Linked DNA regions of Homo sapiens: all the other regions are linked to region 1. The links are contacts of gene promoters, found by promoter capture Hi-C in blood cells and fetal thymus (Javierre and others, 2016). All regions are on one chromosome and are shown on one strand. The core of a region is centred on a gene start or on the middle of the fragment in contact, and the rest is flanking DNA. Distances in the headings are between cores, read along the strand shown. Region 1 holds the start of MTA2 (metastasis associated 1 family member 2). Region 2 overlaps WDR74 (WD repeat domain 74). Region 3 overlaps ASRGL1 (asparaginase and isoaspartyl peptidase 1). Region 4 overlaps STX5 (syntaxin 5). Region 5 holds the start of TAF6L (TATA-box binding protein associated factor 6 like).

The links. Contacts are between HindIII fragments. The CHiCAGO score rates a contact against its expected background, and 5 or more counts as called.
Region 2: a contact is called between a fragment that was not itself captured here and the fragment with the promoter of MTA2 in region 1, in 3 of 17 cell types (total CD8 T cells, monocytes and naive B cells). The highest score is 6.5, in total CD8 T cells.
Region 3: a fragment that was not itself captured here is called in contact with the fragment with the promoter of MTA2 in region 1 in 1 of 17 cell types (M2 macrophages); the score reaches 5.2 in M2 macrophages.
Region 4: a contact is called between a fragment that was not itself captured here and the fragment with the promoter of MTA2 in region 1, in 10 of 17 cell types (total B cells, naive B cells, naive CD8 T cells and 7 more). The highest score is 9.7, in total B cells.
Region 5: the fragment with the promoter of TAF6L here is called in contact with the fragment with the promoter of MTA2 in region 1 in 4 of 17 cell types (non-activated CD4 T cells, total CD8 T cells, naive B cells and 1 more); the score reaches 5.6 in non-activated CD4 T cells.

What each region holds. Positions count from the first base shown.
Region 1 is chr11:62,598,528-62,603,876 of GRCh38, reverse strand. MTA2 (metastasis associated 1 family member 2) reads left to right here and starts at 2,012. Exons shown (of 18, transcript NM_004739.4): 1 at 2,012-2,454; 2 at 3,188-3,255; 3 at 3,618-3,711; 4 at 5,238-5,349. The coding sequence starts at 2,427. EML3 (EMAP like 3) reads left to right here. Exons shown (of 22, transcript NM_153265.3): 19 at 61-148; 20 at 630-728; 21 at 988-1,118; 22 at 1,199-1,659. The coding sequence ends at 1,402. RefSeq lists enhancers at 299-1,008, 1,517-1,566, 2,947-2,996, 2,431-3,141, 4,735-4,874 and silencers at 2,317-2,366, 2,437-2,536, 2,617-2,696. The HindIII fragment of the contact is 11,513 bases long and covers 1-5,349 here.
Region 2 is chr11:62,833,018-62,838,366 of GRCh38, reverse strand. WDR74 (WD repeat domain 74) reads left to right here. Exons shown (of 11, transcript NM_001369450.1): 4 at 2,331-2,406; 5 at 2,526-2,672; 6 at 2,835-2,936; 7 at 3,840-3,940; 8 at 4,036-4,091; 9 at 4,430-4,575; 10 at 4,693-4,749; 11 at 5,236-5,349. It overlaps STX5-DT (STX5 divergent transcript), which reads right to left. Exons shown (of 2, transcript NR_135084.1): 2 at 4,324-4,804. Among named protein-coding and RNA genes, the nearest start is that of TEX54, 2.9 kb to the right of the region's middle. The HindIII fragment of the contact is 2,307 bases long and covers 2,912-5,218 here.
Region 3 is chr11:62,384,362-62,389,710 of GRCh38, reverse strand. ASRGL1 (asparaginase and isoaspartyl peptidase 1) reads right to left here. Exons shown (of 7, transcript NM_001083926.2): 5 at 460-578. Among named protein-coding and RNA genes, the nearest start is that of SCGB1A1, 32 kb to the left of the region's middle. The HindIII fragment of the contact is 6,766 bases long and covers 1-5,349 here.
Region 4 is chr11:62,808,659-62,814,007 of GRCh38, reverse strand. All of the region lies in intron 10 of STX5 (syntaxin 5), which reads left to right. Among named protein-coding and RNA genes, the nearest start is that of NXF1, 5.9 kb to the right of the region's middle. The HindIII fragment of the contact is 8,125 bases long and covers 1-5,349 here.
Region 5 is chr11:62,769,033-62,774,381 of GRCh38, reverse strand. It overlaps TAF6L (TATA-box binding protein associated factor 6 like), which reads right to left and starts at 2,986. Exons shown (of 11, transcript NM_006473.4): 1 at 2,892-2,986. It also overlaps a transcript of TMEM223 not described here. RefSeq lists enhancers at 2,397-2,536, 4,699-4,748 and a silencer at 2,727-3,136. The HindIII fragment of the contact is 6,431 bases long and covers 1-3,335 here.

The DNA.
Region 1 (5,349 bases), core at 763-3,262:
GGGGGCTCTGGGGATGGGAAATGGATGGGATACTTTAAAACTCTTGACCTTTGCTCCCAGGGTCACTCCAGCTTCATCACTCATCTTGACTGGTCCAAGGATGGGAATTTCATCATGTCCAATTCTGGGGACTATGAGATTCTTTACTGTGAGTGGCAGTGGAGCAGGACATGGGGAGAGGGTAATTGGAGTGGGTTTTGTGTAGGGGGGGCTGTTAGAGGTGTTGTTAGATAAGGAAGTGGAGATGGGGTTAAAGTGGAGTTGGAATTATATGTAGGAGAAATTTCGTGATTTGGAAACAACTAGTTTCACACCATGTCTTGTTGACTTGAGGGAGTTCAAAAATGCGCTAAGAAAAGATTGTTTGGGAAAAGTTTCTCAGGGCAAGTGTGGAGCACTTGACTTATCTAGGGAGGAGGAACTCGTGGAAGCTGTTAGAACTTCAGCCAGAGCTCAGGACAGGACGCACACAGGGTGGGTTTCACAGGGGGAGGAGGTGATGCTACTACGGTGACCAGATCACATGCCATCGCCGGGTTTCATGCCAGTCTTTCCAGTCTGGCTTTCCCTGGCATCTTCCCTACTGAGGGCAGGGTGAGAGCTGAGCTGGGCGGGCTCCCTCTCCCCAGGGGACGTGGCTGGAGGCTGCAAGCAGCTGAAGAATCGCTATGAGAGCCGAGACCGGGAATGGGCTACCTACACCTGTGTGCTGGGCTTTCACGTCTACGGTGAGCAGGGGCGTGGAAACCTGCTGGAAGGGTGGGGGACAAGGTGGAGCCCAGTTTGGGCTTGGAACGCTGGGCGTGTGTCGTTGGGTGAGAGTCCAGAAACCTGAAGATCCAGCCCAGGAGGCCCCTCGGGACCGGGAAGGCTTGCCTGGAACGCGGCAGTGGGTGGCCGCGGCTGCCGGAGCGCCTGAAATGGTGTAGCTCTGGGCCGTGGGTGGCGGTGGGTAGGAGGTCGGGCTGAGGCCGGCCGCTGTGCTAGGCGTCTGGCCGGACGGCTCCGATGGGACCGACATCAACTCCCTGTGCCGCTCCCACAACGAGCGCGTGGTGGCGGTGGCCGACGACTTCTGCAAAGTGCATCTCTTCCAGTACCCGTGCGCTCGTGCCAAGGTGAGGCCGCGGGGATCGCCGGGGTGGGACCGGTGGGCCCGAGGGCTCAGCCGCCACCGCAACTCTTCCCTCCGGCCCAGGCGCCGAGCCGCATGTACGGGGGCCACGGCAGCCACGTGACCAGCGTCCGATTCACGCACGACGACTCGCACCTCGTCTCGCTGGGCGGCAAGGACGCCAGCATCTTCCAGTGGCGAGTGCTGGGCGCTGGGGGCGCGGGGCCGGCGCCCGCCACGCCCTCTCGAACCCCCTCCCTGTCCCCCGCCTCCTCCCTCGACGTTTGATCGCTGCCTGGCGGGACCGACTGGCCCGGCGGCGTGGCCCCGCCCCGCCCTGCCCTTCCCTGGCCCAATCCCCCACGACTAGGGGCCGACTCTTTCCTGGACTGACTTCGAGACATTCCCGATCGCGCATTTTCCTGGAGGGCGCGAACGGCGCCCCTGCACACACTGTTTAGACCCGCTGGCTGAGCCGGGCAGCCCCAGCCTAGGCCTTGACTCCCGCTGCCTGCTGAGGGGCAATAAACCAGAACCAAAGTCGCCTCCCGGTGCTTTTGTGGGGCGCTGCCGGGCGCCTCCGGGGCTCTGTGGGGTGGGGACGAAGGAAAAGAGGCGTGCGGAAAGGGTAAGGGAGCGTAGACCATTTATGCAAATGACAGGCAAAGCCGCTTGCAAATAACCTGGCGAAGCGCTAAGGCGCGCGAGTCTTTGGGGCGCGAGGAGGAGCTGCAGGGCTCCAGCGAGGACAGAGTTAAGCCCGACTCCTCTCCCGCCCTCGGAAAAGGGGGTGGGGCCGAGCTGCGACGGAAATAGCCGAGCGGTTGCCCGACAGGAGCCGAACTTCTTCCGGAAGTAGCCGATCTGCGGGGTCTCGCTCTCCGACCTGAGCCGAGCAGTGGGCCTTGTTCTCCGGATCGGCCGAAGGTGTTCCGGAAGGAGGCGAACCCTGAGGCGGGCCCGGCAAGCCTTCCCTGCGGCCGGCAGAGCCCAACGACTAGTGGGACTCCGCGGGGGCGGGGGTAGCTGGAGCCTGGCTCTGGCCTGGCAGGAGCCGAGCTCGTTCCGGAAGAAGCCGAGCGGACGGGGGCCAGCCTCAGCGTCCCGGGAGTGAGGCGATAGCTGCGGCGGCGACAGCGCGGGCCGGGATGAACCGCGACGGCTGAGGCAGCGGAGGTGCCGGCTGCGCGGGCCCCAGTGAGACTCCCTCGAAGCGGCAGCCCACCGTTCGGGGCTTTGCCTCGAGCCGAGCCCTGCCCCCGCGAGCCTCCCGGACCCCTTTGTGCGGCCGGAGGCGGCGGCGGGAACGGCCATGGCGGCCAACATGTACCGGGTGGGAGGTGAGTACCGGGCGCAGGGATACGGGGCCCGGGGCGGGAGAGGTTGGGGTAGGGACCTGAGGGGCTCGGCACCGGGTGGCGCGAGGCGCAGCGTATGGGGCAGCGTGGACCGGAGCGCGGACCGGAACCGGAACCGGGAGACGAGGAGAGAGGGTGCGGGGAACCGCGACGCGGCAGGGCTCCGAGACTCCCAGAGAGAAGCTGCGGGCAGCCCCGACGGCACTTTCGGGGCTGCGTCAGGGGCTCCCCGGGGCACGGAGTGGCCTTCGGAACCGGTTCCGAAGGAGCTGACAGGGTAGGGAGGGAACGCGAGGGGCTGGGGCGACGGCTTTGCCACCGCGGGGGAGCCGCCCGGAGGTTTCCTCTTCCCAGGCGTTATTGTGCGCCTCGATTCGAAAAGGTAGGGGCCCTGCGCTAGAGCGGACAATTACTTCGCCGCGACTGGGGTGCAACTCATCGCTGAGTTGTGGGGACTGCAGGGGAACCCCTGCTTCTTGCCTGTTCCTTAAGGCTCTCTTTTGAGTAAAGGATCTAATTTTAGAACTAGGTGCGGTGGGGATGGGGGACATCCTTATTTTCTCTTAGTCTGTCCACTTTCACATCTCAGCGCCCTTTCTACCTGAATCCTTATCTCCTTTTGATCCACTCAGGCCAACTTTCTCTCCTACCCTGGTGCTCTGCGTCTCCCATCTCCTCTGATCTTCGTGGTTCTCCCCCCTCCCTTCCCTTACAGATTACGTCTATTTTGAGAACTCTTCCAGCAATCCTTACCTGGTTAGACGGATTGAGGAGCTCAACAAGGTGAGTGGAGCAGAATCCCTCTCCCTCCCTCCCGCAGTGGTCTCTTCTGAGGTTTCTAACTTCTGGTGGAAGAGAGGATCCTATACTAAGTACCCATTCATATTCGTTCATTCATTCATTGGATGTATTCAGGAAAGGCTATTGAGAGGTTAGCAGGAACTTTACTATTCTGTCTCTTGGGGGCAAAGGAAAGGGATTTGGAAGTCTATCCTTGAATGTAAGTCTTTACTCATATTTTCTTGGGCTTTTTAATTTAGGTCCCTCTGAAACTTACTGTTATTTGTCTCTTTGTGCATTTCTGTTCCCAGATGATCAATTTCCACTGCTACGTTGTTTTGTTTTTGTTTTTTTCCTCCCCTTAGACTGCAAATGGAAATGTGGAGGCAAAGGTTGTCTGTCTTTTCCGGCGCAGGGACATTTCTAGTAGCCTCAACAGCCTGGCTGATAGTAATGCCAGTGAGTATCTTCCTCCCTTTCTTTTTCTCCTACCCATGATCTGAGGCCTGGGCATGTCCCTGCAGGTATTTCCCCTGGTAGCATGCCCAAGGCAGAGGTGTGAGTTTGGGGGTGGGAAATGCCTGGCCTGAGGAGGGAGGCCTGTTTTTACATGTTGGGGTTGGAAGCAGGGTGGAGAGATTGTGATAAGGAAAGCGATAATATGGTTTGTATATGAGAGTAAGAGAGAGATGATAACATTTAGAGTATGAGGACGAGCTTTAGAGAAACAATGGTTTTCTAAAGGGGGGCAGTTTGGGGTACATTGAGACAGTAGGTGATGACTGAAGGTCAACGTGAAGAGGAAGACATTGTACTGAGAAGCCTGCGTAACAGAGAAGCAGGCTTATTTTGTAATCACAAGGTGATGAGAGTACCTGGAAGTTAGAAGATGGCTGGAAGTTTTCTTGCGCTTTTTAATTTCTCACCTCGCCCATTTCCCCGCCCGCCCCCCTCCATTTTACATCTTTCCCTTTTCATTTTGCCCTATCTTCATTCTCTTTAAGGTCTCATCTTCTTTTTTTAAAAAACATATTTTCCTTAGCTTCTTTTTCCTTTCCTGCTTTGGTTTTCTTTTTCCTTCCTTTTGTTCCACCTTTCTAAATTATTTTCCTTTTTCAGACTGCTCTGGGTGAGAAGGGGTTAAAGAGGAGCCCAGCTTACCAAGTTCCTTGGCCCTTTAGGGTTTCCAGCCCCATCTGGCAGGGGCTGACCTTGGCCTTGTCCAATCAGAAGGGGTGTTGGGGGTGTGGTCCCCCTTGCCTCAGCACAGGGTTTCCGGAGCACACAAGCGAGGGGTGGAGCCTACTGCACAACCCCCCCCTTCTCCCTGAGGTTGGGAACAATACACCAATGAGCCTGGGGCTGAGGTTCTTCTGCTCCCTCCCACTTTGGTTGGCGCCTAGCCAGGTTAACCCCTTCCGCTAGGTTTCAGGGCAAGCTGCAGCTCCTTGGGGAGGAAGGTGTTGGCACTGGCTTGAGAGGTGTTGTCCTTGGAAACCCCAGGAACTATTATTAGCCAAGTAGAAAATGAGGGATAGTTAGGGCTGCATGTGATGTTTTAGAGCAAAGAGTCTCCTGAAATTGAAAAGAACTGGTAAACACAGTCTTGTGTGATATTTTTTCATCTTGAGTTCCTGGACCTCAGGCTGGTTTAGCAAGCAAGAGACAAGTGTGATGTTCTTGCTGGCCCGTTGTGGACTTTGGTGTCTGAGTACTGGCAGCTGGGTAGCGATGTATTTCTAGAGCATTCTTCGTACTCTCAGCAGTTCTTCTCTAAAAGCATTACTGATAGAGTTGGGAGCATCTATGATGGGGCATAGAGCTAAGAAGGAAAGCTGGTGGGATAAGGGTATAGAAGGCAGACGCCTGGGAAATGTGAGAAAAAAACAGCCAAGATAGGAAATATTTTCCCTGAGTTAGAGTTTCCAGGGTGGTGTTTTGCTGGATCCATTTCTGACTTGGTTTCTTCCTCTTTAATCTCCCAGGGGAGTTTGAAGAGGAATCAAAGCAGCCAGGGGTGTCTGAGCAGCAGCGCCATCAACTGAAGCACCGGGAACTTTTTCTTTCTCGGCAATTTGAATCATTACCAGCCACCCA
Region 2 (5,349 bases), core at 2,816-5,315, 230 kb before region 1:
CCTGGCCAGCACGGTAAAACCCCTTCTCTACTAAAAAAATACAAAAATTATCCGGGTGTGGTGGCTCATGCCTGTAATCCCAGCTACTTGGGAGGCCGAGGCTGGAGAATCGCTTGAATCCGTCCCGCAGAGGTTGCAGTGAGCAGAGATCGCACCAGTGCACTCCAGTCTGTGAAACAGAGCAAGACTCCATCTCAAAAAAAACAACAAAAAAAGTTTTAAGCATGCATTCATTAATTCATTATTAATTCATTTATATTTTTTGAGACAGAGCCTCACTGTGTCACCTAGGCTTGAGTGCAGTGGTGCATTCATGGCTCACTACAGCCTCAACCTCCCGGGGTCAAACGATCCTCCCGCCTCAACCTCCTGAGTACCTGGGACCACAGGCAGGTGTCACCCTGCCCAGCTAAATTTTTAAGTTTTTTATAGAGATGGGGTCTCACTGTGTGCCCAGGCCAGTCTCAAACTCCTGGGCTCAACTTGAGCTCAACCACCAACAAGGTGATGTAGCTCTGAAAGCAAAGATTAGGAAGGTGCTAAGTGGTTGGATGACTGGCCTTGCTTTCTTCCAAAGATGATGAAAGAGGGCTGTGAAGCAGGCTGCATAGGTTTGGTGGTGGTAATTCTGACAGGTGAGGTCTGGAAAGCCTGTGGGGGGGACTGGATGTCTGAACTGGTTCTTGAGGGATGGGTAGAATTTTGACTGGTGGAGAAGGGGATAAGGGTATTCTAGAAAGAGGGTACTGCCTGGGAGAGGCCAAGGACTGGAGGCATGCTACAGGGTACATAAATAGGATAAATAGCATTTGATTTGGAAGTTGATAACAAGGAAGCGTTTTTTTTTTTTTGTTTTTTGTTTTTTTTTTATATACGGAGTCTCACTCTGTTGCCCAGGCTGGAGTGCAGTGGCACAGTCTCGGCTCACTGCAACTTCTGCCTCCCAGGCTCAAGCGATTCTCTTGCCTCAGCCTCCTGAGTAGCTGGGATTACAGGCATCCGCCACCACGCCCAGCTAAGTTTTTTTTGTATTTTTATTAGAGACAGGGTTTCACTATGTTGGCCAGGCTAGTCTGGAACTCCTGACCTCAGGCAATCCGCCCACCTCAGCCTCCCAAAATGCTGGGATTACAGGCGTGAACCACTGCACCCGGCCAAGGAAGCATTTTAATACAAGATGAACACTATATTAGGTTGGGATTAAATGTAAAGGGCTTTAAGTGCTAGGTTGAGAGATGTGCACTTTTATTGGTGTTGGTGAGTTATTCATTTATTGTTTTTGTTTTTCTGAGAGACGGAGTCTTGCTCTGTCACTGAGGCTGAAGTGCAGTGGCATGATCTCGGCTCACTGCAACCTCCACCTCCCTGGTTCAGGCGATTCTCCTGCCTCAACTTCCCAAGTAGCTAGGACTACAGGCATGTACCACCACACCCAGCTAATTTTTGTATTTTTTAGTAGAGACAAGATTTCACTATATGTTGGCCAGGCTGGTCTGGAACTCCTGACCTCAGGTGATCTGCCTGCCTTGGCCTCCCAAAGTGCTGGGATTATAGGCGTGAGCCACTGTGCCTGGCCAAGTTATCAGTTTTTGAATAGGAAGTACCATAGTCAGCACTGGGAGCCTGTAGGAGTATGGAGGATGGATTGGAGACAGCAACTGGGAGACTTTTGCCACAGGTCAGGCAAGTCGATACAGAGCCCGAACCCAGCTAGGGAGGGTTGGCAGGTGTGAGAAAGAACATAGGCGCAGGCTGTGCAGATCCTGGGGAGAGACTTGCTTGGACTTCTCGGGAGGGATATTTTAAGCAAGAGACTGACATTTAGTGCCTGAAACTCAGAGCAAGGAACCCAAGAAGTTGGTGTTTGACTTTGACCAAGCCCTAAATTCAGACCAGCCCTAGTAAGCAACTCAAGATTCAGACAGACCAGTACAGCCAGATGCTAGACATAGCTGTGAACAGCAAAAGCACTCTGGAATATCACAGAGTTGATTTCTAGCTGTGGTTGTAACATAGCTGAGTGGCAAATTAGTTTCTCAGCGCTTCTATTTCCTCACTTGGTAAACCCTCACCCTGTTGAGAAAGTTGAATTAACAGATTAGGAAGCTGGAAGCTGTCAAGCCCTGCCTAGAGCCCAGTGACCTAGAGGCTTCCTTCTAAACTGGACTGTTAGTAGGGAATCTGGTTGATATGAGTTTGGGGCCTAGAGAATACTTTTATACTTTTTTTTTTCTTTAAACATTAGTCAACTGTAGTAGTAAGGAGGAGAGAAAGATTAGAACAAGGAGTTTAAGCACTTAAAAAATCCCAACTCTATCCTTTCTCTGCAGCACCCTCATCACATGTGTGGATTCTGGGATTCTCAGAGTCTGGCATGACAAGGACAAGGACACATCCTCTGACCCAGTGAGGCTCCCCTGCCCTGATGGTTGGGGGAGGTGGGCTGGGGTAGGTGCCTAATGATCACGCTGGGGAAGGGAGGATTAAGGACTCTGGAACGGACTCTTATCTCCTATTCTTTACAGCTCCTGGAACTGAGAGTGGGCCCTGGGGTGTGTAGGATGCGCCAAGACCCAGCACACCCCCATGTGGTTGCCACAGGTGGGAAAGAGAATGCTTTGAAGATATGGGACCTGCAGGGCTCTGAGGAACCTGTGTTCAGGGCCAAGAACGTGAGTGACAAGAGTGTGAAGGAGCTGTTCCTGAAGTCGAGGGAGGCTGAGGCCACTGACGATGCATTAGAGACTAGATGGACTTAGGGGGCGAAGGAGGGCTGAAAACAGGGGCACATCGAGCCCCCCATAGCCCTGTCCTCCATCTGCCCACCCCACCAGGTGCGGAATGACTGGCTGGACTTGCGGGTTCCCATCTGGGACCAGGACATACAGTTTCTCCCAGGATCACAGAAGCTTGTCACCTGCACAGGGTACCACCAGGTAAGGTGTCACCTCACACCTGCCTTCTCCTGGGATAAAGCAGCCTCCTGGAGAAATGGCCCCCACGGTTTGACACAACTGCTCTTCTCACCATTCTGAGTTCAGAGGAGCAAGCGCTTCCCCGTCTGTTCCAACCCTGTCCCTGAGCCCATGACCTTCCTCTACTGTATTCTAGGGTGGAGTTTCCTGAACTATGCCTGTTTTCCTCCCACCTGGAAGAGAGGAAAGGAGAGTGGATCCCCTTCACTGTGGGAATTATAGGGTGCAGGTGTCAGAGGACATTGGGCTGGGTGTTAAGAGAACTGGGTTCTGGTCCTGATGCAGCCTCTCTGATTTGCTTTGGGACCCAGGCCTGAGCCTCCCATCTCTGGCCTCAGCTCCTCAGCTTTACAGGAAGGGCCCGAATGGGGAATCTTTATGGTTTGTCTCATTTGAGGTCTTGAGACACGGGCGGGGCTGGGTCACTGTATTTGTCCTATTTTCTTTGCTTCTGCACATTGAAGTCTGATCTTGGTCATATGCCTCTGCTCAAAACACATATGAGGGCATCCTCTTTCCTCCTTCATTCAGGCTAACCCCTGCTTGAAATTTAGCACCTACTGACTACTAGACCAACTTGCTTTTCTGTCCCTCCATTTCCCCTAGATGGGAGTATGGGGGGATGGAATGCTCACACACTTCCAACCTAGGGGACCTCTCCCCTCAGCTCTGTCCATTTATGCTGCTAAGCAGCTCTCCTGACACCCTGATGCTCAGAGAAGAGGCATACATCTAAGATGAGAAAGTTTCTGGGAGTGGATCATAAATAAGAAAGCAGTGTGCAGGGAGGGGGTGAGGATGCAGAGACGCCAGAGGGTAGGTGCAGGGTGAGGATACTTTTGTGATGCTTCAGCCTTCCTCTAGGTCCGTGTTTATGATCCAGCATCCCCCCAGCGCCGGCCAGTCCTAGAGACCACCTATGGAGAGTACCCACTAACAGCCATGACCCTCACTCCGGGAGGCAAGTGAGTGTTTAGAGGGGAAGGGGTGGGAGGGTGGGGCTTGAGAAGGGCTCCAGGAGGTTACTGCTGATCCCACTTGCCTCTGGTCTCATCCTCAGCTCAGTGATTGTGGGAAACACTCATGGGCAGCTGGCAGAAATTGACCTTCGGCAAGGTGAGTGGACTAGGGTACATTGGGGGAAAGGAAGGAGCAGGGAGAAGGGTCAGGATTCCCTCTAAGGTGGTGCAGTGGGGCCAGTGAGGCCTCATTCAGGTGCCAGATTGCCTGGGTTTAAATCCTGGTTTCCCTAAAAGCTGTATGACCTTAAACTAATTATTTCAACTCCCTGTGCCTTAGTTTCCTCACCTGCGAAATGGAAATATTAGTAGAAGCTCCAGTCTCAGGGTTTTGTTGCAGATTAAATGTTGAAATGGAAAGTGATTGGAACAGGAAACAATGAATGGTTGGTTATTGGCCAGCCAGTTATCACGGATGCTTCCCCCCTTCTCTAGGGCGTCTACTGGGCTGTCTGAAGGGGCTGGCAGGCAGTGTGCGTGGGTTGCAGTGCCACCCTTCAAAGCCTCTACTAGCCTCCTGTGGCTTGGACAGAGTCTTGAGGATACACAGGATCCAGAATCCACGGGGTCTGGAGCATAAGGTAAGTTGTCTCTCCCACCTCCAACTCATGGTCTTGTGGAGGCCCCGCCTCCTGTGCCCTCCGTTCATGTTTCTGTCTCAGCATGCCTGGCTCCTTAAGGTCCCTCATCTTTTGCAGGTTTATCTCAAGTCTCAATTGAACTGCCTCCTCTTGTCAGGCAGGGACAACTGGGAGGTGAGCAGTTGGGCCCGGGAATGTGGGAGCCAAGGGCATAGATGTGAGGACCTCCCTATGGAGAGGAAAAGGAGGCAGCTGGAATGCAGACTTGGGACTATCTGTTTACCTGCCTGGTCACTTAATTTCTCTGAGAGGCATTAACAGTTAAAATCCTGAGAGGGTTATTGCCAACAGCATGGATGGGGTTGCTTTCTAGGAGCAGGGAATAAAGGTGGTGGTACCCAGAGGGATTCTTTCTCAGCCAGGGTCTCCTTCCCTGTGGGTTTGTCCCTGTGCCCCTGACTACTTTTCTTTTTTTTTTTTTTTTTTTTTTTTTTTAAACTTCTTTTTGTGGAGATGGGGTCTCCTTATGTTGCCCAGTCTGGTCGCTAAGTCCTGGGCTCAAGCAATCCTCCTGCCTTGGTCTCCCAAAGTGCTGAGATTACAGGTGGGAGCCACCGTGCCCGGCCCCCCTGACTCCTAAGCTTTCTTCCCACTCACCAGGATGAGCCCCAAGAGCCTCAAGAACCCAACAAGGTGCCCCTAGAAGACACAGAGACAGATGAACTTTGGGCATCCTTGGAGGCAGCTGCCAAGCGGAAGCTCTCGGGTTTGGAG
Region 3 (5,349 bases), core at 1,816-4,315, 220 kb after region 1:
AATCTATAATGTGTCTGTAGAAGTATGTCACTTTCATGCTGCTCAGATCTAACAACTGCAGTCTCAGATTTCTCAGATTGCTAATCAGAGCCCATGTCTCGGGAGTAAGTCTTACTCAAGTAAGTCTGCAGATCCTGAAACTGTGGCTAAAGAGAAGACAGAATCACGACAGGGTAGACTGGGGGCAACGTTAGCATCCCTGTCTCCACTTCTCTCCCCAAGTTGTTCCAAAAAGGCATGCAATCTAGTAAAAACAGTGGCGCCAGATACAAACACCCTCTCAAGGCAGCACCCCGAACAACCCCTTCCAACCCCATTGTCACTCCCAGACATCCTGGAGCTGCACCAAAAGCAGAAAGGGAACGCAGCAAGAAACGGAGAGGGGCAGGGAATAGAGAGTGAGGAAAGCCTGAGGGCGGGAGAAGAGGGGAAGGGGCAGGAGGCATCCCTTGGTCCTACCTAGACACGGTGAGTCCCCAACGCGGCCGACCATTTTATTAACGATACCGCCTGTGGAGGTTGCGTAGGCTACATTCCCTTTGCAGTCCAAGGCAACAGCACCCACGGTTCCCAAGTTTCTGCCAAAAATAAACAGAAAAAAAGTGACAGGCTGAAAATGAGAATGAACACCATAACCAACAATGTACCTTAAAACCACTTAAAGTTTCATGTTATATGTTGATGGGGCACCCATTTAATTCCAACATTCTAGAAAGAACCTGCTGCTTCTCATTCTACGTGTAAGTTACAGGTGGATTGCTGGACACTCCTCCACACCTCAGCTTTAAGAGTACATCCAATCCCAACACCACCGTTTTCTAGCTGTGATGCTAAGTTTTATTTTGTGTCTCTTTGTCCCCATCATAAAATGGGGATAAAAGTAAGAGTGCTTCTCAAACTTTAGTGTGTATAAGAATTCCTGGGGTGCTTGGGCCCACAGAGACTCTGAAGCTGCCACCAAGAGGAGAAAGGAAAGGAAAAAGTGACTTGGTAGATACAGGCTGGGACCCAAAATCCTGCTTTTTTTTTTTTTTTTTTTTTGAGATGAAGTCTCACTTTGTCGCCCAGGCTGCAGTGCAGTGGCACAATCTTGGCTCACGGCAACCTCTGCCTCCCGGGTTCAAGTGATTCTCCTGCCTCAGCCTCCCAAGTAGCTGGGACTACAGGCATGCACCACCACACCTGGGTAATTTTTATATTTTTAGTAGAGACAGGGTTTCATCATCATCTTGGCCAGGCTGGTCTCAAACCTCTGAGCTCAGGTGATACGCCTGCCTTGGACTCCCAAAGTGCTGGGGTTACAGGCGTGAGCCACTGTGCCTGGCTGATCCTGCGTTTCTGACAACCTCCCGGGTGTCGCTGATGCTGCCTGCCTATGGACCCTGTGCATGGGGTTGTCGTAAAGATCAAATCCGTTAATTTTCCCCTAACATTTTATTATGAATTCTCGAATACAGTCATGTGCCACCTATGATGTTTTGATCAACAGACTGCATATAGGATGGTGGTCCCATGAGATTATAATCCTCTATTTTTACTGTACTTCTATGTTTAGATACACAAGTACTTACCATTGTGTGACAACTGCCTAGAGGATTCAGGACAGTCACATGCTGCACAGGTGTGTAGCGTAGCAGCAACAGGCCGGACCACATAGCCTAGATGTGTATTAGTCTCTCCTATCTGGGTTTGTGTGAGTGCACCCCTATGATGTTTGCATGGCCATGAAATTGCCCAACTATGCATTTCTCAGGATGCATTTCTTGTCCTGTCATGAGACGCGTGACTGTAACACAGTTGAACAAATTGTACACGAACACCCCAGCATACCCACCAGCAAGGTTCTATAATGAATTATATTTGAGGCATTGTTTTAAGTGCTGGGACACAGTGGTAAAGCTAAACAAAGTCCTTTCTCCCATGGAGCCTGCATTTGGGGTAGAGGGTGGTAGTAACAGGGCAATAATATGTCAGGTGACAAAAACAAAACAAAAAAACAAAAAACCCAAACAAAAAAACAAAGAAGCACCAGGGAAGAGTGATGGTGGGGAGGTGCTGTTTTACACAGAGTGTCTCTGCAGGACAGAGGGGCAATCATGCCATCCCAGCTGCTGGGGAGGAGCGTTCCTGATGCACAAACATGCCTGCCATGTGCATGGAATTTGAAGGAGGCCAGTGTGGCTGGAGAGAATAAAATGAGGGAGAGCGTGGTAGGAGAATGATCAGAGGGACAGCCAAGTCCAGATCACGATATCTCTTGACAAGTGGGGTGACCATACACACTAGTTACCCAGGCCAGTTCAAATGTATGCCTGCTGTCATGGCTTAATTATTAATAGTACCACTTTTACTCTCAAAATTAAGTTTCAGTTTAAACACTAAAGAATATAATCATCCTACCTTTAGGCCATTGCAAAGGCTTTTATTCTGAGTTAAATGGGAGGACGCTGGGCAGTTTGAGTTAGGAAGTGACACAACCTGAGTTCAATCTTAAAAATAATCATTCTTGGCCAGGCGCTGTGGCTCACACCTGTAATTCCAGCACTTTGGGAGGCCGAGGCAGGCTGATCACCTGAGGTCAGCAGTTTGAGACTAGCCTGGTCAACATGGTGAAACTCTGTCTCTACTAAAAATACAAAAAAAAAAAAAAATTAGCTAAGTGTGGTGGCGTGTGTCTGTAATCCCAGCTATTTGGGAGGCTGAGGCAGAAGAATCGCTTGAACCCAGGAGGTGGAGGCTGCAGTGAGCTGAGATTGTGCCATTGCACTCCAGCCTGGGTGACAGAGTGAGACTCCATCTCAGAAAAAAAAAAAAAAATCATTCTTTCCACTCCACCTGCCCTCCAGTAGAATGGCTAAAATGAAGAGGCACATCAAACCTGGCAAGGATGTGCAGGAAGTGGAACTCTCATTCAGTACTGCTGTTAGTGTCAATTGTACCAACATCTTTGGAAAAGCATTTCACAGTATCTACTGAAACTGATGATATGCACATTCCATGACTCAGCAATTATACACCTGTGTATCTGTCCATCAGAAATATGGACAGGTGTTTACCATAAGCGCATTCTCAAGTGTTCACAGCAGCAGTAGGTGTAAAACAGTAGTCCCCCCTTATTTGCAGGGGATACGTTCCAAGACCCTCAGTGGATGCCTGAAACCTCAGCTAGCGCTGACCTCTATAAACACTATCTTTCCCCCTATACATATCTATATATGTACATATATATGTACATATCTATGATATGTATGATATGTACATATCTATGATAAAGTTTAATTGATAAATTAGGCACAGTAAGAGATTAACAATAATAAAATAATACAATTATAACAATATACTATAGTAAAAGTTATGTGAATGTGGTCTCTTTCTCAAAACATCAGACCGCAGTTGAGTGTGGGTAACTGAAAGCACAGAAAGTGAAACCGCAGATAAGGGGAGCTACTGTAACCCTAAACTGGTTACAGTCTCAAACTCCTGACCTCAAGTAATCCACCTGCCAGAAAAAATTTAAAATCTTTTTTTATTTTACTTTTATTTATTTTTGAGATGGAGTCTCACTCTGTTGCCCAGGTTGGAGGGCAGTGGCGTGATATTGGCTCACTGCAACCTCTGCCTCATGGGTTCAAGCTATTCTCCTGCCTAAGCCTCCCGAGTACCTGGGACTACAGGCGTGTGTCACCATGCCCAGCTAATTTTTGTATTTTTAGTAGAGATGGGGTTTCACTATGTTGGCCAGGCTGGTCTCGAACTCCTGACCTTGTGATCCACCCACCTCAGCCTCCCAAAGTGCAGGAATTACAGGCGTAAGCCACTGCACCCGGCCTATTTTATTTCATTTTTGAGATGGAGTTTTGCTCTTGTTGCCCATGCTGGAGTGCAATGGCGTGATCTTGGCTCACTGCAATCTCCACCTACTGGGTACAAGTGATTCTCCTGCCTCAGACTCCCAAGTAGCTGGGATTACAGGCATGCACCACCATGCCCGACTAATTTTGTATTTTTAGTAGAGACGGGGTTTCACCATGTTGGTCAGGCTGGTCTCAAACTCCTGGGCTCAAGTGATCCACCCGCCTCAGCCACCCAAGCTGCTGGGATTACAGGCGTGAGGCACCACGCCTGGCCCTAAAATCTTTTATGTGGCAAAAATACCATAGCAAAAGCAAAATAAAAACAGCAGATTTGGGATTTTTTAAAATTTTATTTACAGCAGAACATAACCTTAAGGCTCATAAGAGCCAGGTACAGTGGCTTGTGCCTGTAGTTCCTGCTACTCAAGAGGAAGAGGTAGGAGGATCACTTGAGCCCAGGAGCTCAAGGCCAGCCTGAGCAACATAGAGAAATCCCATCTATCTATAAAGAACGTTAAAAATGTAAAAGAAAAAACAATGAGACTGATAAGAAAGGGAAAAAATAATTCAAAGGAAAAAATGAGTGTAGGACAAAACTAGGCAAATTTGTAAAAAGGAAAAACCCATAAACAAATGTAAAATGCTCAAACTCACTGTCAGGGAAAGGGAAGAGCAAATTAAAGTAACAGTGTTACCCTTTACCTGTTAGATAAGGAAGGAGGGTTCTCCCAGTCCCTGCTGGTGGCAGGCCCACCTCTAACATTTGCAAGGGGCCATGGCAACAATACAAATACAACTGGAGGCCCACATACCATATATTTAATATTGGGAAGTTATAAGTATGTTCTATCCTGTTACTGTGGTAAATGTATCTTGAAAAATCGGTATTTTTCTTGTATATATGTTTCACTGTATATAAGGTGAACTTTTTTTTTTTTTTTGAGACAGTCTTGCTCTGTGGCGCAGGCTGGAGTGCAGTCGTGTGATCTCGGCTCACTGCAACTTCCATCTCCCAGGTTCAAGTGATTCTCCTGCCTCAGCCTCCTGAGTAGCTGGGATTATGGGCATGCACCACCACTCCCGGCTAATTTTTTGTCTTTCAGTAGAGACGGGGTTTCACCATGTTGGCCCCAGGGTGGTCTTCAACTCCTGAGCTCGGGCAGTCTGCCTGTCTTGGCCTCCCAAAGTTCTAGGATTACAGGCATAAGCCACCACACCCAGCCATGAATGTTTTGATATACATAGTGAAATTATGATTACAGTCAACTAGAATAACATACCTATCATCTCACAATTACCTTTCTTTATTTTTTTGTGGTAAGAGTACCTAAAATCTACTTTTTAAATTTTTTTGAGATGGAGTCTTGCTCTTTTGCCCAAGCTGAAATGCAGTGGCGCCATCTCAGCTCACAGCAGCCTCTGCCTCCCGGGTTTAAGGAATTCTCTGCTTCAGCCTCCCAAACAGCTGAGATTACAGGCGTGTACCACCACACCC
Region 4 (5,349 bases), core at 844-3,343, 210 kb before region 1:
AGGTATGTTAGCATGCCAATGGAAATGATGCAACGGATAAATTTAAAAATGATAATATAGGAGAAAGATGGGAGAATTCTTGAAATGATGTCCTTGAGAAGGTGAAAGGAAGTGGGCTCCGGGGCATAAATCAAGGCTTGGCTCTAAGAGGAGCTGGCGATAGGTGGGAAGACAGAGGCTATTGTAGCAATGCTCGGGGTGGAGCGGCATTTATCTTCAGACCACTTCAGTCTTCTCAGCTCATTAAGAAGAAAAGCCAGTAGAGGAGAGGAGGTGTAGGAGGTTTTAGGAATCCACTCCTGCCCACTTGATCTTATCCCTTTAGCAGGGTCCAACCCTGATTGATCTTTATTCCCCACGGTATCTAGCAGAGTGCTTTTACTCTACGTTGTTGATCATGTGAAACTGAGTGAACACCTACATTTGTATAAAGCCGGTTTCTGAACATCAATCCACTAAGCAGCCTCACACATTTAACTGGCCAAGGTAAAAGAAAACACTTGGAGATTCTGATTCGAGAGATGTGAATGGAGTGGGCTTTTCAGGGAGCTTCATTTTTACAAATTCCATAGGGGGTTCTGATGAGCATCCAGGTTTGGGAACTACTGATTAAAAGAAAGTTTGTTTATTCAACTACTATATGTTGAGCACCAGCCATTTATAAGGTACCGTGAGTACAGCTGTCTTGATCCTAGAGTCAGGAGAATTGACTGATTTTTTTTGTTGTTGTTTGTTTGAGACAGTCTCACTCTGTCACCCAGGCTGCAGTGCAGTGGCATTATCTTGGCTCACTGCAACCCCTTCCTCCCAGGTTCAAGTGATTCTCCTGCCTCAGCCTCCCGAGTAGCTGGGATTACAGGCATGCACCACCATGCCTGGCTAATAATTGACTGATTTTTTTTTTTTTTTTTTTTGAGACGGAGTCTCACTCTGCCACCCAGGCTGGAGTGCAGTGGCAACCTCCGCCTCCTGGGTTCAAATGATTCTTCTGCCTCAGCCTCCCAAGTAGCTGGGACTACAGGCACGAGCCACCATGTCCGGATAATTTTTGTATTTTTAGTAGAGATGGGGTGTCACCATATTGGCCAGGCTGGTCTTGAACTCCTAGACCTCGTGATCCGCCCACCTCGGCCTCCCAAAGTGCTGGGATTACAGGCGTGAGCCACCGCACCCGGCCTAATTGATTTTTATCTATTTCAGCTGAGACCTAGGGAACCCCTTGCAGAATTATGCCATAAACACCATAGCTCCCTGAGCTATGTTGTATTTTGAATATTAGAATATTAAGTCTGGGCGTGGTGGCTCACGCCTGTAATCTCAGCTCTTTGGGAGGCGAGACAGGCGAATCACGAGGTCAGGAGATCGAGACCATCCTGGCTAACACGGTGAAACCCCATCTCTACTAAAAAAAATACAAAAAAATTAGCCGGGTGTGGTGACCGGCGCCTGTAGTCCCAGCTACTAGGGAGGCTGAGGCAGGAGAATGGCGTGAACCCAGGAGGCGGAGCTTGCAGTGAGCCCAGATCACGCCACACGCCACTGCACTCCAACCTGGGCAACAGAGTGAGACACCGTTTCCAAAAAAAAGAATATTATAGAGTCAGTGAAACAGAATTATAAAAGATATGGAGGGCCAGGCGCAGTGGCTCATGCCTGTAATCCCAGCACTTTGGGAGGCCGAGGCGGGCGGACCACCTGAGGTCCAGAGTTTGAAACCAGCCTGACCAACATGGAGAAACCCTGTCTCTACTAAAAATACAAAATTAGCCAGGCATGGTGGCGCATGCCTGTAATCCCAGCTACTCTGGAGGCTGAGGCAGGAGAATGGTTTGAACCCGGGAGGCGGAGGTTGCTGTGAGCTGAGATCGCACCATTGCACTCCAGCCTGGGCAACAAGAGCAAAACTCCATCTCAAAAAAAAAAAAAAAAAAAAAGGTATTTGAGTTCTTTCCTCAATCCATATACATCTAAAATAAAGTTATAGCATATAGGCAACTTTACATTCTAGTCTTCCTTGAAACAGTGTCATAAGTATTTTTCACTGTTAGCATGTGTTTGCTCATTGGTTTAGCAAACATTTGTTGCTGCTGTGAGCTAATCCTGCTGGGTCTGAGGATAAAAGGGTGAAAGACCATTCTGGTCCTCCTGGAGCTCACTAGTAGGAGAGACATAAGTTGACAGTGACAGCTCAGTATGATAGGGCAAGAAGAGAAGGGGATGAGGCTGGGTGTGGTGGCTCATCCCTGTAATCCTAGCACTTTGGGAGGCCGAGGCAGATTACTTGAGGCCAGCAGTTCAAGAAAGCCTGTGCAACACAGAGACCCCGTGTCTATTAAAAAAAAAAAAAAAGGGATGAGAGAACTCAGAGTAGGTACTGCTCCTAGATGGGGCCAAGGGGCCTTCCCAGAAGTGATACCAAGCTAAGACTTGGAGGGAATGCCAGCCCAAAAAGGGGAAAGGAGAAGCTGTTCCATGTGAGGAAAAAACAGCACAGAAATGAGAAAGAACTTGGTAGATACAGGAGTGCAGAATTATTCAGCATGGCTGGGGGAGTGGTGAGAGGCAAGGCCAGGTCACAGATAACCTGTGTGTCACAGCAAGAAATTTGGTGTCAGGGAGAGAACATAAGAAGAAGCAAGCGGATTGATGCTGGGTGAGAATTAGGTTTGTTCTGGGTGTGCTGAGTGCCTCAGACTTCATGGGACAGCTAAATGACAGAGTTTAGTAGGCATTTCATGTTCTGATGTTTGGAAGAGAAGGCAGTGCTAGAGGTAAGGACTTAGGACAGTGGCCTCTTGGTGAAACCCTGGGCATAGACCACCCAGAGACTGGGTAAAGTGAAAAAAAGGTCAGGACAGATCCCCCATGGAGTCAGGGGGTATGTAGAGAAGGGAAGAATCTGGCCAGACTGAGGAGGAAGGTTGAGGAAGATGAGAGAAGAAAGCAGAGAGAGAAATGTGTCCTTAGAACTTGGGATAGAAGAATTTTAAGGAGTGGTTATTTCTCCTTGCTCCTGAGAAAGAAAGTTCGAGGTAAGGATGTGTTTGAGTCAGGAGGGGCTTGAATTAATTGGATCAGTGCCAGTATTTTCAGTGGAATGGCTCAGTAGCAATTTTACAGTATGTTGGAGCATAAAAGAAATAAGGAAGTAGAATTTATGGGCAACCATATACAAAATAAATTTATGAAAGGATGCCATCTTTAAAATAGGTGTAGACATTCATATGCTTCCTCCCTGCATGCCAGTGGATCTGGGTTTCAGCACTTGCTCTAGAAACCACTGATTAAGTCTGAAGTTTTTTGGGATGCAGATTCTTGGGCCCCAACCTAGAATTTCTGGTTGTGACACTTGAGAATTTTTATATTTGAGAATTCAACAGGTGATTCTTATTTTTCCTAAGGTGTGAAAACCACTGATCTAATGTTGCTCAGTCATTTTCCTTTTCACCTCATAAAATATTCAAACTACAGAAAAGTTGGGAGGATAGCACAATAAACACTCATATTCCCTTCACCTGTAGTCACTAACTTTTTTTGTTTTCATATTTGTTTTTTTCTTTTCTTTTGAGACAAGGTGACACTCTGTCACTCAGGCTATAGTGCAGTAGCGCAATAATGGCTCACTGCAGCCTCAAACTCCTGGGCACAAGTGATCCCCCCACCTCAGCCTCCCCAGTAGCTGGGATAACAGGTACATGCCACCATGTCCAGCTAATTTTTAAATTTTTTTGTAGAGACAGAGTCTCCTATATTCCCCAGGCTGTTCTTGAACTCCTGAACTCAAGCAATCCAGCCACCTTGGCTTCCCAAAGTGCTGGGATTACAGGCGTTGGCCAGATCTGGCCACCAATTGTTAACATTTTGTCACTTTTTTTCTTTTTCTTTCTTTTTTTTTTTTTTTTTTGAGATGGAGTCTTGCTCTGTCACCCAGGTTGGAGTGCAGTGGTGCGAGATCTCAGCTCACTGCAATCTCCGCCTCCCGGGTTCAAGTGGTTCTCCTGCCTCAGCCTCCTGAGTAGCTGGGGTTACAGGTGCACGTCACCACATCCAGCTAATTTTTGTATTTTTAGTAGAGACAGGTTTTCACTATGTTGGTCAGGCGGGTCTCAAACCCCTGAACTTGTGATCCGCCCACCTCAGCCTCCCAGAGTGCTGGGATTATCGGCGTGAGCCACCACATTCAGCCTTTCCCCTCTTTCTTTTGCCGAATTATTTGAAAGTAGGTGCAAATTTCATGCTGTTTTATTCCTAGATACTACAGCATGCTAATAATAAGGCATTCTCCTGAACAGCCATAATGTCTTTTTTTTTTTTTTTTTTTTTTTTTTTTTTTTGAGACAGAGTCTTGCTCTGTTTCCCAGGCTGGAGTGCAATGGTGCGATCTCCACTCACTGCAAGCTCTGCCTCCCAGGTTCACACCATTCTCCTGCCTCAGCCTCCTGAGTAGCTGGGACTACAGGCGCCCGCCACCACGCCTGGCTAATTTTTTGTATTTTTAGTAGAGACGGGGTTTCACCGTGTTAGCCAGGATGGTCTCCATCTCCTGACCTCGTGATGCACCCACCTCGGCCTCCCAAAGTGCTGGGATTACAGGTGTGAGCCACCACGCCCTGCCCATAATGTCATTTTCAAACTAAGAAAATTAACAGTTCTCCAACATGATCCAGTAATCAGCCCATGTTCAAGTTTCCCCATCTGATTTTTTTTTTTTTTTTTTTTTGAGACGGAGTCTCGCTCTGTCACCCAGGCTGGAGTGCAGTGGCACGATCTCGGCTCACTGCAAGCTCCACCTCCTGGGTTCAAGCCATTCTCCTGCCTCAGCCTCCCGAATAGCCGGGACTACAGGTGCCCGCCACCATGCCCGGCTAATTTTTTGTATTTTTAGTAGAGACAGTGTTTCACCATGTTAGCCTGAATGGTCTCAATCTCCTGACTTCGTGATCGGCCTGCCTCGGCCTCCCAAAGTGCTGGGATTACAGGTGTGAGCCACCATGTCCGGCCCCCATTTGATATTTAAAACAAAAGTTTTTATCTTTTTTCTTTCAATTTAAGACCCAGGAAGATTCACATTTTGTATTTGATGTGTGTCTTCAGTGGGCCTTTTGTTTTATTTTTCATGACATCAACTTGTTTTGTTCAATGTTAAATTAAATCTAACACTGATTAAATTAGTGCTGCGATGATTACATTAGTAGGCACTTGATGAGGTTATCCCTTTTATTGCTGATGTCAATTTAATCACTTGTTCAAGGTGCTAACTATCAGATTAAGCACACTCATCCCTTGGTATTGTGGGGCATTGGCTCCAAGAGCCCCAGAGGAAACCAAAATCCATGCATCCGCAAGTCC
Region 5 (5,349 bases), core at 1,737-4,236, 170 kb before region 1:
AATTTGGGCCGGGCGCGGTGGCTCACGCCTGTAATCCCAGCACTTTGGGAGGCCGAGGCAGGCGGATCACAAGGTCAGGAGATCCAGACCATCCTGGTTAACACGGTGAAACCCCATCTCTACTAAAAATACAAAAAATTAGCTGGGCTTGGTGGCGGGCGCCTGTAGTCCCAGCTACTCGGGAGGCTGAGGCAGGAGAATGGCGTGAACCCAGGAGGCGGAGATTGCAGTGAGCCGAGATCACGCCACTGCACTCCAGCCTGGGCAACAGAGCAAGACTCCGTCTCAAAAAAAAAAAGAAATAAAGAACAAATCTGAACAATGGCTCTGGAGGCTCTGCATGTACTGCCTACTTCTGCAATACCTCTTACCTCTTATCTCCTACTTTCTTGTGTTCTGTATTCCCACCTGTGTCCTCCTTTCAGTTCCTCAAATACACCTATTTTAGGACCTTTGAACACTGCTTCCTCCACTTGGAACTCTCTCCTCCCTGTCCTCCACCCCCAATCCCTTTGTCTAGTGAACTGCTACTCACTCCTTCAGATTTCAGTTCAAATGTCACTTGCTCAGGGATGTCTTCCTAGATCCTCCAATGTCCTTGCATTCTGCCTCCAAACCAGTCGTAAGAATTTGTAGCTGGACCCAGTGGCTCACGCCTCTAATCCCAGCACTTTCGGAGGCCAAGGCGGGCGAATCACCTGAGGTCAGGAGTTCAAGACCAGCCTGACCAACATAGAAAAACCCCCATCTCTACTACAAATACAAAATTAGCCAGGTGTGGTGGCACATGCCTGTAATCCCAGCTACTCGCAAGGCTGAGGCAGGAGAATCGCTTGAACCCGTGAGACAGAGGTTGCAGTGAGTCAAGATCGCACCAGTGCACTCCATTCTGGGTAACAAGGGGAAAACTCCGTCTCAAAAAAAAAAAAAAAATTGTAGGCCGGGCGCAGTGGCTCATCTGTAATCCCAGCACTTTGGGAAGCCAAGGCGGGTGGATCACAAGGTCAGGAGTTCTAGACCAGCCTGGACAATATGGTGAAACCTCGTCTCTACTAAAAATACAAAAATTAGCTAGGCATGGTGGTCCGCGCCTGTAGTCCCAGCTACTCCGGAGGCTGAGGCAGGAGAATTGCTTGAACCCGGGAGGTGGAGGTTGTAGTGAGCCAAGATCGCACCACTGCACTCCAGCCTGGGCGACAGAGCAAGACTCCATCTCAAAAAAAAAAAAATTTGTAATTATAGGCCAGGCATGGTGGCTCACGCCTGTAATCCCAGCACTTTGGGAGGCCGAAGCTGGTGGATCACGAGGTCAGGAGATGAAGACCATCCTGGCTAACACGGTGAAACCCTGTCTCTACTAAAAATACAAAAAATTACCCAGGAGGCTGAGGCAGGAGAATCACTTGAACCCAGGAGGCAGAGGCTGCAGTGAGCCGAGATTGCACCACTGCACTCCAGCCTGGATGACAGAGCTAAACTCAGTCTCAAAAAAAACACAAAACAAAAAACAAAAACAAACAAAAAAAAAAGATCTTCTAAAAGAAAGAAAGAAGAACTATTCTTTTTTTTTTTTTTTGGAGATGATGTCTGATGTCTCACTCTGTCACCCAGGCTGGAGTGCAGTGGCTTGATCTCGGCTCACTAAAACCTCCGCTTCCCGAGTAGCTGGGATTACAGGCCTGTGCCGCCACACCTGGCTAATTTTTGTATTTTTAGTAGGGATGGAGTTTCGCCATGGTAGCCAAGCTGGTCTGGAACTCCTGACCTCAGGTGATCCGCCCACCTCGGCCTCCAAAGTGCTGAAATTACAGGCGTGAGAGCCACCGCACCTGGCCCGACGAGCTTTTTTTTTTTTTTTGGAGACACAGTCTCGCTCTGTCACCCAGGCTGGAGTACAGTGGCGTGATCTCGGCTCACTACAACCTCTGCCTCCCTGGTTCAAGCAATTCTCCTGCCTCAGCCTCCCGAGTAGCTAGGACTACAGGCATACGCCGCCATGCCCAGCTAATTTTTTGTATTTTTAGTAGAGACGAGGTTTCACCGTGTTGCCCAGGCTGGCCTCGAACTCCTGAGCTCAGGCAATCCAGGTGCCTCGGCCTCCCAAAGTGCTAGGATTACAGGCGTGAGCCACCGCGCCCGGCCACGAATAGCACTGTACTATGCCTGAGACACAGCTAAGTGCTTTATATGGATTACTTCACTATATTCTCAATAATAAGATATTATTATGTATTTCGTCTATTTCACAGGCAAGGAAATCAAACCTCAGAGGCTAAATGTTCCATGACTTCTCCAAGATCATGAAGTAAGCACTGAGTAAGTAGGGAGGGGGAGCAAGGACTCAACCCCTTGCTCCTAATCTTTACTCTATACCGCATTCAGGAGCCGCCAGCTGTATGGGGAACAAGGCCTGGATCCCACCCCAAAGACATGGATTGGAGACCCACCCCTTGGTGACCCTAGACCCGCCAATAGATCGTTGTGAAGCTGCAGTTTCCCTATCTGTAAAATGGGAGCATTTAGTCCACCAGCGCGAAAGGCACGGAGGGAGTTTCCCTATTATATGACCGTACACGAAATCTAGACTGTGACCAAAGTCTCCCGCTCCTCAGCCTCCTCTCCTCCGCATCCTCAGCCACTAGTCACGCTGGAGAGGAGGCGTGGGAACTGACCTCCGCGGGCCGGGCCTCGGCAACGCGCATCCTCCCACCCGGCCTAGCCCAGCCCAGATCGGGGAGGGGGTGCGCGGGGGGAGGAGGTCAGGGGTCACTGAACTTGGGTCACGTGGTCAGCCAAGGGGGCGGGCCCTCGCGGTGCGGGCTCCAAGACTGGTGAGTAAGCAGTCGGCGTCGGGAATGGGGAGTCCTTGGACCAGAGCAAGGCCTGCTCACCTGAAGACCCCGGCGTGGCGAAGGCTGCTACCGAGACGACGGCGGCGGGGGCGGTGGCGGCGGCGCCCACTCACGAGCTCACACTCATTCCCTCTCCCGGGGCCCCGGCCCCGCCCTCCCCAATACAGCCAGTCGGCGGGCGCCTTGGAAAGTTTCCGGCCCTCCAGGAGGCTTCCTGGCTCTTGATTGGCCAGTGTGAACAGACTGTAGAGACCGGCGGTCACGTGACGCTGAAGATTCCCGCTTCTTAAAGCAACCTCTCTTGCTACGTTTGCGAGTAGGTGTGTATTGTTTTAACACACGTTTAATAAGCATATTTTATTTTTTTTACCACCACAATAGTAACGAGGAAATAAACAGTCTCAAAGACAGCGTCTTGATTTTCTTTGTCTTGTTTGCTCGCGAGTTTCTGAGCACCCGCATTTTCGCGACTGCAGCAAAGCTTTAGATTTTGGTGTCTGGCTTAGTTTTCCTGCCCGGCCTACCTCCCCAACATCACATGCCACTTCCCCTTCCTGAAGGGATAGATGGGGCTCTCGGTAGGTGTTCTCGGCAGGCAGAAGGGACTTCTGACCCGGCCGAACATCCCGTGCAAGCTCCGGACTCCAGGGTTCTGCTCTTTCTGCACCTACTTCGCATTCTCCCCACGCCTGTGAACCAAATACAAGCCCTGGCCTACCTCGCCTTGCATGACCGTTGGACACGCACACTGACAGCTCTCTTTCTCCAACTCCCACTGCAATAGCAGCTACTTGGGCAGTTCTTAATTGATAAGCAGTGGGCTTAGTGAGTAAAGGATGGTATTTGGAATCAGACCGACCTGGGTTAAAATTCTGACACTGCCTTTGGGCAAATTACCTAATATGGAGTAATAATGCGCACTTCACAGGGTTGTTGTAAATTAATGTCTGTGAGAGTCCCTGGCAGAGTTGGAGGTTAAACTTCTTTCCCGGCCGGGCGCGGTGGCTCACGCCTGTAATCCCAACATTTTGAGAGGCCGAGGCGGGGGATCACCTGGGGTCGGGAGTTCAAGACCAGCCTGATCAACATGGAGAAAAATCCATCTCAACTAAAAATACAAAATTAGCCGGGTGTGTTGGCACATGCCTGTAATCGCAGCTACTCGGGAGGCTGAGGCAGGAGAATTGCTTGAACCCGGGAGGCGGAGGTTGTGGTGAGCCGAGATCGCGCCACTGCACTCCAACCTGGCCAACAAGAGTGAATCTCCGTCTCAAAAAAAAAAGAGAGAAACTTTCTTTCCCTCACATGTCACAAGGCATACAGTGAATTCCTTTAAGTTCACCCAAGATGGGGTAGTTTGCACTGAGTGAACTGTGGGAACATTCTGCAAGGGAGCATGAATGTACACATTTTTTCTCTTTCCCCCTCTCAGGGTTAGATGCTGCTGCCGCTGGAAAAGAAAATCCCCTGGGACCCGAGCTGGCAAAGCCAGATGGATGCGACTGTGGTTGCCATGGCAACCCCACCTAAGGAGAATGTGACCCTGCTGAGTCTCTTCCACTCATATTCAGAACCATATTAGAAGTGGTTTCAAGTGTCTGCCCACCTGTGCGTTAAGGGAAAGAGAGAGGGCGCTCTCCTCTAAGGTCTGACTGAGCCTGAAGTCAGCTTAGCCAGACCTGGGCAGCTGGCTGACCTCCTTGCTTAGGTTTACTGTTCTGGACAGCCATCAGCAACCTTGGAGACACTAGAAGATGGGAGGGAGACCGGGACTGCCCGGGACCTATTAGATGTAGTGAACCTGTATCCAACCTGTCTGGAGCTCATTTGCTCCCAATCTGAGTGGAGGCAGGAACCAGGGAAGGCAGTAGTGAGACCTCCATGGCCACAGATGGGAGAAAGGTGGCTCGCTCCACACACCCAATGCCTGGCAAGAACTATGATGGCTTTGGTGTCAGACTTTTTTTCTTTTTTCCTTTTTTTGAGACGGAGTAACACCCTGTTGCCCAGGCTGGAGTGCAGTGGCGCAATCTTGGCTCACTACAACCTCCACCTCCCAGGTTCAAATGATTCTCCTGCCTCAACCTCCCAAGTAGCTGGGATTACAGGCACTTGCCACTACCACCAGCTAATTTTTGTGTTTTTAGTAGAGACAGGGTTTTCACCATGTTGGCTAGGCTGGTCTCCAACTCCTGACCTTGTGATCCACCCGCCTCTGCCTCCCAAAGTGCTGGGATTACAGGCATGAGCCACTGTGCCTGGTCAAAGTCAGACTGTTTTTATTCATTTATTTTTATTTTTATTTATTTTTTGAAACTGAGTCTCGCTCTGTCGCCCAGGTTGGAGTGCAGTGGCGTGATAGCTCACTGCAACCTCTGCCCTCCCAGTTTCAAGTGATTCTCCTGCCTTAGCCTCTGGAGGAGCTGGGATTACAGGTGTCCGACACCATGCCTGGCTAAGTGCTGTAAGTTTTGTATTTTTAGTAAAGATGGGGTTT